Regions from separate parts of the Homo sapiens genome. Here region 1 is linked to region 2. The links are contacts of gene promoters, found by promoter capture Hi-C in blood cells and fetal thymus (Javierre and others, 2016). All regions are on one chromosome and are shown on one strand. The core of a region is centred on a gene start or on the middle of the fragment in contact, and the rest is flanking DNA. Distances in the headings are between cores, read along the strand shown.

What was found. The method cuts DNA at HindIII sites, captures the fragments that hold promoters and counts their contacts. A CHiCAGO score of 5 or more calls a contact.
Region 1: a contact is called between a fragment that was not itself captured here and the fragment with the promoter of TTC39B in region 2, in 1 of 17 cell types (total B cells). The highest score is 8.4, in total B cells.

The regions. Positions count from the first base shown.
Region 1 is chr9:14,686,718-14,691,088 of GRCh38, reverse strand. ZDHHC21 (zDHHC palmitoyltransferase 21) reads left to right here. Exons shown (of 10, transcript NM_178566.6): 2 at 704-752. Among named protein-coding and RNA genes, the nearest start is that of ZDHHC21, 4.5 kb to the left of the region's middle. The HindIII fragment of the contact is 2,205 bases long and covers 686-2,890 here.
Region 2 is chr9:15,305,966-15,310,034 of GRCh38, reverse strand. It overlaps TTC39B (tetratricopeptide repeat domain 39B), which reads left to right and starts at 2,819. Exons shown (of 20, transcript NM_152574.3): 1 at 2,819-2,951. The coding sequence starts at 2,910. RefSeq lists silencers at 2,565-2,904, 2,935-3,254 and enhancers at 2,492-3,054, 3,618-4,069. The HindIII fragment of the contact is 2,405 bases long and covers 2,578-4,069 here.

The sequences.
Region 1 (4,371 bases), core at 539-3,038, 620 kb after region 2:
ACAGTGGCAGTATCAATACTACCAGGCAAAAGAGGGAAGGCAGAGGAAAGGCTGTTTTTATTGCCAAGAGTTTGTTCCCTAAATTCAGTTTTACTTTTATATTAAGGAATGTAACCTTTTATGTTGTTTTAGTAAAACATTAGGGCTCAGATTCAACTTTTCACATGCATTAAATATAATAGGCAATTTAGCATCTAGTAGAATAATCAGTGCTTAAATAACTCTTATTAAAGGTAAAAATACAGGTGAAATTGTAAAACAGTTTTTATTGTTGAAAGTGATTTGTTAAGAATTCTTGATAAGTCAAGTCAGACTAGTTTAAAAAGCACATTTTCATAGACATGTGAATCATCACTGTGCTCATTGATAGGTCCCTGAACAAAAATACCTTAGTATGATGGTACTTTATGTGTTTGTTTTGCTCTTTAGACCTAACCTAGGCAAAATTGTGACATTTTTGAAGTTTGCCTTCTGCCTTTCAAGCTGCTTTTTCCTCTGTGCTATTTCTCTCAGGGTAGATTAACCTTCTTCCCCATTTCAGAGACTCTCTTAACCGATGTGTTGCCCCTTCTACAAAAGGGCAGGTTGGGTAAAATTGATATTTTACCATTCACTGGTGAATTTTATTTTAAATCTAACCTAAAATGCTCAAGTGTGATGTCAACCAAGCTTCTGATTTTAAGCTTTTTATCTGTAATTACAGAATGAAGAACTTTTTCACTTACTGCAGGATTTTCAGCTTCAGCAAGCAGGTGAGGAGAGATTTTTCTTATGGTGTTAGTGTTCTTAAATCATGGCTGCTTTGGTAAAGCCTGGTGTGAAGGAAATCTAATTTAGTCTTCTACCCCCAACCCCCCACCAATCTCTCTTGGTGTGGTGGGTACTAGAAGGTAAGTAGCAGGCTTCCCTTCCTTCTTGGAAGAACATACTTGATTCATACCCAGGAAAAGCCTGGGCCTCTTCATTTCTGGCTTTTACTGTATCTGAAGGTTTTTTCCTTGTGCTGATTTTGGAACAAAAGTTACCTTTTTAAATCCCTGTCCCTATCCTACATTTAATCTTGCCTTTTCAGTCCCTTTTCCCACTCCTATCTCCCTAATGAAAATTCCCACAGAGACCTTTTGTACTGACTGAAACAATATTTGGTGGTCTTTAATTCGTATCACCCCACACCTCCCAAGCTATTTTTACTTTTTGTTAGAAGATTCTAATGAAGTGAGCTTGAGCCAGGGAGAATGGAGACTGAGGCTGCAGTGGGCTGTGATTGCAGCACTCCAGCCTGGACAACATAGTGAGACCCTGTCTCAGACAAACATACCCAAAAAACAGTGGCCCAGTTATCTACTTTCTCTAAAGTTAAAGCAAGTTAATGCAAGCAGGGAAAAATAAAGGTAAATGCCTGTATTAGCAGTACTAATACTACTAGTAGTAATACTACTAGGATAGTGTTAGCAGTATTAATACTGCAGTGTAGTACTACTAATACAGTCATGTACATTTATTTTTCACTCATGAGACTGGTGCACACAAAAACAAATTTATGAGAAGAGCAACAGCTTATGCTCAATTTTGCCCAGAATGTAATTTAAAGACTTAGTCTACAGAGTGGATTCTTGAAACCATTGATAGTGCAAGTATTTTATGCTTTGACACTTTGTCCACCCACGTTTTTACAAAGTCTTCCTGGAAAACTCAGCAATTGATTCAGAATCCCTGCTTGCATTATACATTCTTTATTAGCTTCTGAGATCAAGTACTGATTTTCTTTCACACTTTATTCCTTTGCTCACCAGTCCTGCTTTTACTTGAATGTGATTTAGTTTAGGGGCTTCAGTTCATTCATTCTATTTTAGATCAAATCTCTATTTTCGGTTTTCTTCTTAAAGATCCCCCTAACCAACGTGTAGAAATACAACTTCAGCTAGTATGATACTAGCCGAAGGGCTGTAATATTTGAAGTTTTTTTGACTAGTTCACAGACTTTAAAAAAGTAGATAACGGGGCATTTTTTGTTGTTCTTGTGTTTGTTTTGTTTTTTGTTTGAGACAGGATCTCACTCTGTTGACCAGGCTGGAGTGCAGTGCAGTCACAGCTCACTGCAGCCTTGGTCTCCATCTCCCTGGCTTAAGCGATCCTCCCACTTCAGCCTCCCAATAAGCTGGGACTACAGGCATGTGCCACCACACCCGGCTGGTTTTCTGTTTGTTCGTTTTTTGTTGTTGTTTTTGAGACAGAGTCTCGCTCTGTCACCCAGGCTGGAGTGCAGTGGGGTGATCTCGGCTCACTGCAACCTCCGCCTCCCGGGTTCAAGCAATTCTCCTGTCTCAGCCTCCCGAGTAGCTTGGATTACAGGTGCCCACCATCATGCCTGGCTAATTTTTGTATTTTTAGTAGAGATGGGGTTTCACGACGTTGGCCAGTTTGGTCTTGAACTCCTGACCTCAGGTGATCCACCCGCCTTTGCCTCCCAAAGTGCTGGGATTACAGGCATGAGCCACTGTGCCTGGCCCCCATTTGTTTGTTTTTTAACTAGTGGCTAGGTCTGGCTGTGTTGCCCAGGCTGCTGTGGATCTCCTTAGCTCAAGCAATCCTACCCCTACTCACCTCCCAACATGGTATGATCACAGGCAAGAGCAGGCCCTGGGGTATTGTTAAACTGTTTCATTACTTTTAATGATGGGGACCTAGAAACGTTGTTTCATTCTGGAGTTTGTAAAACTAGAAGTAAAACTTATCTTTCACTTTCCCTTCCTCTGCTCTCTCCTTCGCTCCCCTGTAAAGTTAGCATTTTGGAGGCGCTGCTTTGCCAGTCAATTTCTCATTTAAGCGTGACAGCAACTGTGTAAGTTGACATTTTTATCTCCATTTTACAGATGGTCAAACTGAAGCTTGAAAAGAAACTAAAGCTTGGAAAGTGAATAAGAGACTATGTCATAATTTCTCTTTTAACATCTGTAGAAGATTAATTTTTTAATCTGTTGATAATCAACTGAATATCTATGTGATATTTAAAAAATTGAATTCCTAATTGGCAATGAGAGCTTGATTTTTATGGAGAATTATTTAACTGCCACACTTGACTAATTTTCAGAGTAGAATGATATCAGAAGTCAAAAAGTTTTATAAATACGTTTACAGCTGTAACTCTGCTTTCTAAATTCATTTGGCTGTAATTAATAAGTTTAAAATTTCATATATTCATCTAATAAGCATTTTCTCTTGGCACTGTGGAAAAAAAATTGGTATGTTTGAAAACTTAGCTTGTAAATTGTTAGATTGTATTCTTTCAGGCGTAGCAATATTAAAAATATTTAATGACATTTTATAGTTTTGAAACTTTGAAATTGTTTTGTTGTTCCAATTTTTTGAATGTTTAGGCCCAACGTTACTTTTGTTTTGTTTTGTTTTGAGACAGGGCCTTACTCTGGCACCCAGACTGGAATGCAGTGGCACGATGATTTCTGCTCACTGCGGCTTCTGCCTCCTGGGTTCAAGCTTCAAGCGATTCTCGTGCCTCAGCCTCCCGAGTAGCTGGGATTACAGGCGGGCGCCACTATGCCTGGCTAATTGTTGTATTTTTGGTAGAGACGGGGTTTTAACATGTTGGCCAGGCCAGCCTCAAACTCCTGACCTCAGATGATCTGCCCACCTTGGCCTCCTAAAGTGCTGGGATTACAGGCATGAGCCACCATGCCCGGCCCAGCATTACTTTTATTACCACATAGATGAGATTTCATTTCTCAGAGGTAGTGGTGTTTATCTAGTACTGAAATACGAATCTCATTTCAGAGGCTGTGTCTGCAGTGTAGCTCTGATAACTATAAATGTAAAGTAGGATTTTTCTTGATTTTAAGCCAGCAAGTGACTGGGATTTGACTCATGGGTGATTGGCCTGTGCTATAACCTACTAACGTTACTGACAGAAACTACTATTTTGCTGAAACATTAGGAAGCCACTCTCAAGTCATAGACTTAGTAGCATTATTGTTTTTGGCCATCTTTCAAAAATGTTTGGTTGTACCACATTTAATTCTGTTTGAATTTTTTTCTGAAATAATTCATTTATTTGCCATTGGGGTAGCAGCTCTTTAACATTGTTTTTTTTTTTGTTTTTTTGAGATGAAGTCTCGCCCTGTCGCCCAGGCTGGAGTGCTGTAGTACAGTCTCTGCTCACTGCAACCTCTGCCTCTTGGGTTGAAACGATTCTCGTGCCTTAACCTCCTAAGTAGTTGTGATTACAGGCACACACCACCACGCCCAGCTTATTTTTGTATTTTTAGTGGAGACAGGGTTTTCCCATGTTTGCCAGGCTCGTCTTGAACTCCTGACCTCAAGTGATCCTCCCACCTCGGCCTCCCAAAGTGCTGGGAT
Region 2 (4,069 bases), core at 1,570-4,069:
GAATTTAAAACATACGAGACTTCAGGTTTGATCCCTGATATGTAAAAAATTCAACAACAAAAACACCAATCAAGCTTCAATTATAAGTATAGATTTTTGAAAAATTGTACTCGATTTTCATTATAACATAATTCTGTCACTAATTAGAGCGAAGTTTGTTTGGATCTCTTCAAAATTTGAAGAGTTGAAATTCCAAAGGCAGAATAACAGCATATGGGAGAAGAAGCTACCAGTGAGATGGCTTCATGTCAAAAGGATGTGCTATCAATTCAGGAACCAATGAACTTTGAAAAACAGAACCATGCATGAGTAATACAGAGTAGAATCTGGACCTGGATAGGAATTCTAGCCTCAGAAAGTGAAACATAGGAGGAGGTAGGAGTGGGTTGGGGGTCTGGGAAGGAATGGAAACTTTCAAGGGTATTGGAATTAAACAAACTCTATGTCTCTTCTGGTCCATCTGATTCTAAGTGTTCAGAGCATGTGTTCTAAATAATAAAAGTATTATTATTATTATTATTTTTGAGACGGAGTTTCACTCTTTTCACCAGGCTGGAGTGCAATGGCACGATCTCGGCTCACGGCAACCTCCGCCTTCAGGGTTCAAGCAATTCTCCTGCTTCAGTCTCCTCAGTAGCTGGGATTACAGGCGCATACCACCATGCCCAGCTGCTTTTTGTATTTTTAGTAGAGACTGGGTTTCACCATGTTGGTAAGGCTGGTCTCGAACTTCTGACCTCGTGATCCGCTCGCCTCGGTCTCCCAAAGTGTTGGGATTACAGGCATGAGCCACTGCACCTGGAGCTTTTTTATTGAGTACCTGCACTGATGAATAAGATAGTGCCTCCTTCTAAGCAATTTACAGATTAGTGGGAACCCAGGAGGCGGAGGTTGCAGTGAGCCAAGATCGAGCCATTGCACTCCAGCCTGGGAGATGAGAGTGAAACTGTCTCTCAAAAAAAAAAAGTATTATTATTTAGAAATTGGGTCTTGCTATGTTGCTCAGGCTAGTCTCGAACTCCTAAACTCAAGTTAGCCTCCTTCCTCAGTCTCCCAGTGCTGTAATCCCATACAGGCGTGAGCCACCACACCTAGCCTGTGTCAGCTAGTTTTTTTAAAACAGCTTTACTAAGATATAATTTACATAATCATAAGTTCCACCTATTGTAAGTACACAATTCAAGGATTTTTAGACAATTCAGAGAGTTGAGCAACCATCACACGATCTAACCCATTTTTTCAATGTTTCTGCTGTAGAAACCATTTTATTATTCTAGTACAAAAGTACATGCCAAGCCATTAAAATTGTACAGCAAGTATTAAGGATGCAAAGTGACTCACTGAAAATGTATGTAATGGACTTGCACAGACAACTGCTCTACTGACACAGAAAGAAAGAGAGGGAGGGTGGCTAGAGCCAGTACAGTACAAAGCAATGGTTATCAGCTAGGCCCTAGAGTTAGACTGCTGGGGTTCAGATGCTGGCATCCCTACTTACTTAACTGCTGTCTGGCCTCAGGCATATTACTTGAACTCTCTGAGCCTCAGTTTACTCATCTGAAAGAGAACAGCACCCTACTTTATGGGGTTATGAAGAATAAATGAAATACTATATGCAAGAGGTTCAGTAGAGTCCTGGCACATAGTAAGGACTCAAGAACTATTAGCTGTTTTTACAGTTATCACTGGATGACTATTAAATAGCCTTTCATGAGCCAGACATGGAAGACCACATGCTCTAATTAAATTTATATGAAATTCTAGAGAAGGCAAATCGATGTTGATAGCAGATCAGTGATTGACAGAGGCTAGGGAGCGGAGGTAGGAAATTGACAGCAAAGGGTCACAGAAAACTTTTCAGGATGTTCTATATTATGACTGGGATGCTTTGTAAACACTTGTCACTGAATCACACATTTAACTTGGTGCATTTTTCTGTATGTAAAGTAAATCTGACCTCTCTCCCCCAAACTCTTAAAGATCTAGCTTTTAATTTTCCAGTTATTTTACATGTCAGAAGCAAGGTTCAGTTTCTAAACTCAGCCAACAAATATCTGTTGAGCACCTACGATGTGCAAGACACTGTTCTGGGTGTTGGGGATACAGTCTTGAAGAGGACAGATAGCATCCTACCCCCATGGAGTTTATAGTTCAAGCACGAATTATACACCTATGTTTGGAGTTACAAAATACAGGATGCTATGGGGAGAATACACTGTCCGGGTAGGGGGAAGTAGAGGAGTTCCAATATGTATAAATCTCTGTCCCGCGTTTTTTTCTATTTTTTGAACACAGAAGCAAGCAGAGTCCTTCCACCTACAGTCCAGGTGGGTGGTGTGTCAGAGGCCTCTCGGGGACCAGTGACCGTGACCCAAGGCTGCCCTCAGGCCACACCATCTGCGAGATGCGGTGGCCACCTGGCGAGGGAAAAGGACTGGCACCGGACCAAAGACCAGGTGGATGCTTCCACGGACCCCAGGTGGGGCGCTGCTTTGACCTTGGCTTCGTCATGCCCGCGCTCTCTAGCTTCTTTCCAGGTGTGCCCAGCCACCGCAGAGAACAGGCGGCAGGAAAGCTTAGGAAACCCTCCCAGAGGGCGTGCCAGACCGGGAAACTTTATCTGGGAGGTGACTCCACCCACTTGGGCGGGGCTGCCGCCCGCTGGGGGCCGGGCAAGTGGCCCGGCCAGCGGCGCGGCGTCCGGGGAGGAAATGGATGCTGTGCTGGCCTGCCGGCTCCGGGGGCGGGGAAATCGAGTAGCTGCACTCAGGCCCCGCCCGAGACCCGGAGGGAGCGCCGGGCCGTCCCCTTTTGCCCTCCTTTGCGCTGGGCTGAGCCCAGAGCCGAGAGCAGGAGTCGGCTCTGAGTTCCCTGCTTGGTTTTTGGGTGGCAGCAGCCAGAGGAGGAATATGGCGCTCTTAGGCAGCCGAGCGGAGCTGGAAGCGGACGAGGTACGATCCGATGGGGATTGCGGGCCCGGCCCCTGAAGCCCTGGACAGGAGTCCGGGAGAGAAGAGTGAGCCCGGCTAGGACGGCCGAGGCCCCGCCCCCTTGGTCCCCTCTCTGGGGTGGGCTGGCGGGCGCCGGGTGGGGGCGCCCGGCCTTGGTAGGTCTGTCCCCGCTGGAGCTAGGAGGGTCCCTGCGGCGCGCGGAGCGGACGCAGTGCCGAGGTTCGGAGCGCCGGCCCCGCGAGTCGTGGGGATGGAGGACCCACGTCCTGCCAGCACTTGGATGGGCGTGAGGGCGCGGGACCATAGGACCCGCAGCTCTGAGCTGTTCCGGGCCGGCCCAGCGACGCCTGGGCTTTACGAAGTCTGACCCTGAAGTCCTGGCACTGGCTCTCTGGGTGTTCGTGGAATCATCCCTCGACCTGGGAATCTCACCTTCTATGGAAGTTTCCTGGTGGCAGAACCGAAAGGCTTACGATTGATGAAAAGAGGGGGCAGCCTGAGGAACAATGAGTAGAGGGGTACCTGCCGCGACAGCAGGGCAGGGCTGCCAGGGGCTGGGGCTGGAGGGCTAGAGCCGCAGCCCAGGCTGTGGTGCTTCCCTCTCCCTCCACGGGGCCGGGACACTTCCCCTAGCAGGTCCTCAGAGTCGGTGGTGGCCGGAGGGAAACCACTTTGAGAACCGACTCCGGCCTCCTTTGGTTTCAACTGTGTTTGAGTAATTAGCCACTCCTTCAGTCGTGGCGCGCCCGGGCCTGAGCACCCAGGGGCTAGCGCGCCGGACCTGTTGATTTATTGACTATTCATTTCAGCACCTGGCAACTCCAGAGACAGCGCTCTCCCTGCTCTTGAAGTTGAGACCGAGGCTCCAGCAGCAGCCAGCACCCACAGCTGCTGTTCCTGCCATCTTACCTGACTTGAATTGTGCGAGTCGCTGCCTTTAGAAGGCTTTGGTTTCAAATGATGCAATAGTGGACGATCTGGAGGAGGCGGTTAAGTTTCCCGTCCATCTCTTTAGTGCCAGGAATCTCCTGACAAGGAAGACTATACTTTAAATGTGCTCCGTAAAATAAACAAAAAACAAAAACTGAACTACAGCTCCTCTGCATGACAGAGAGACA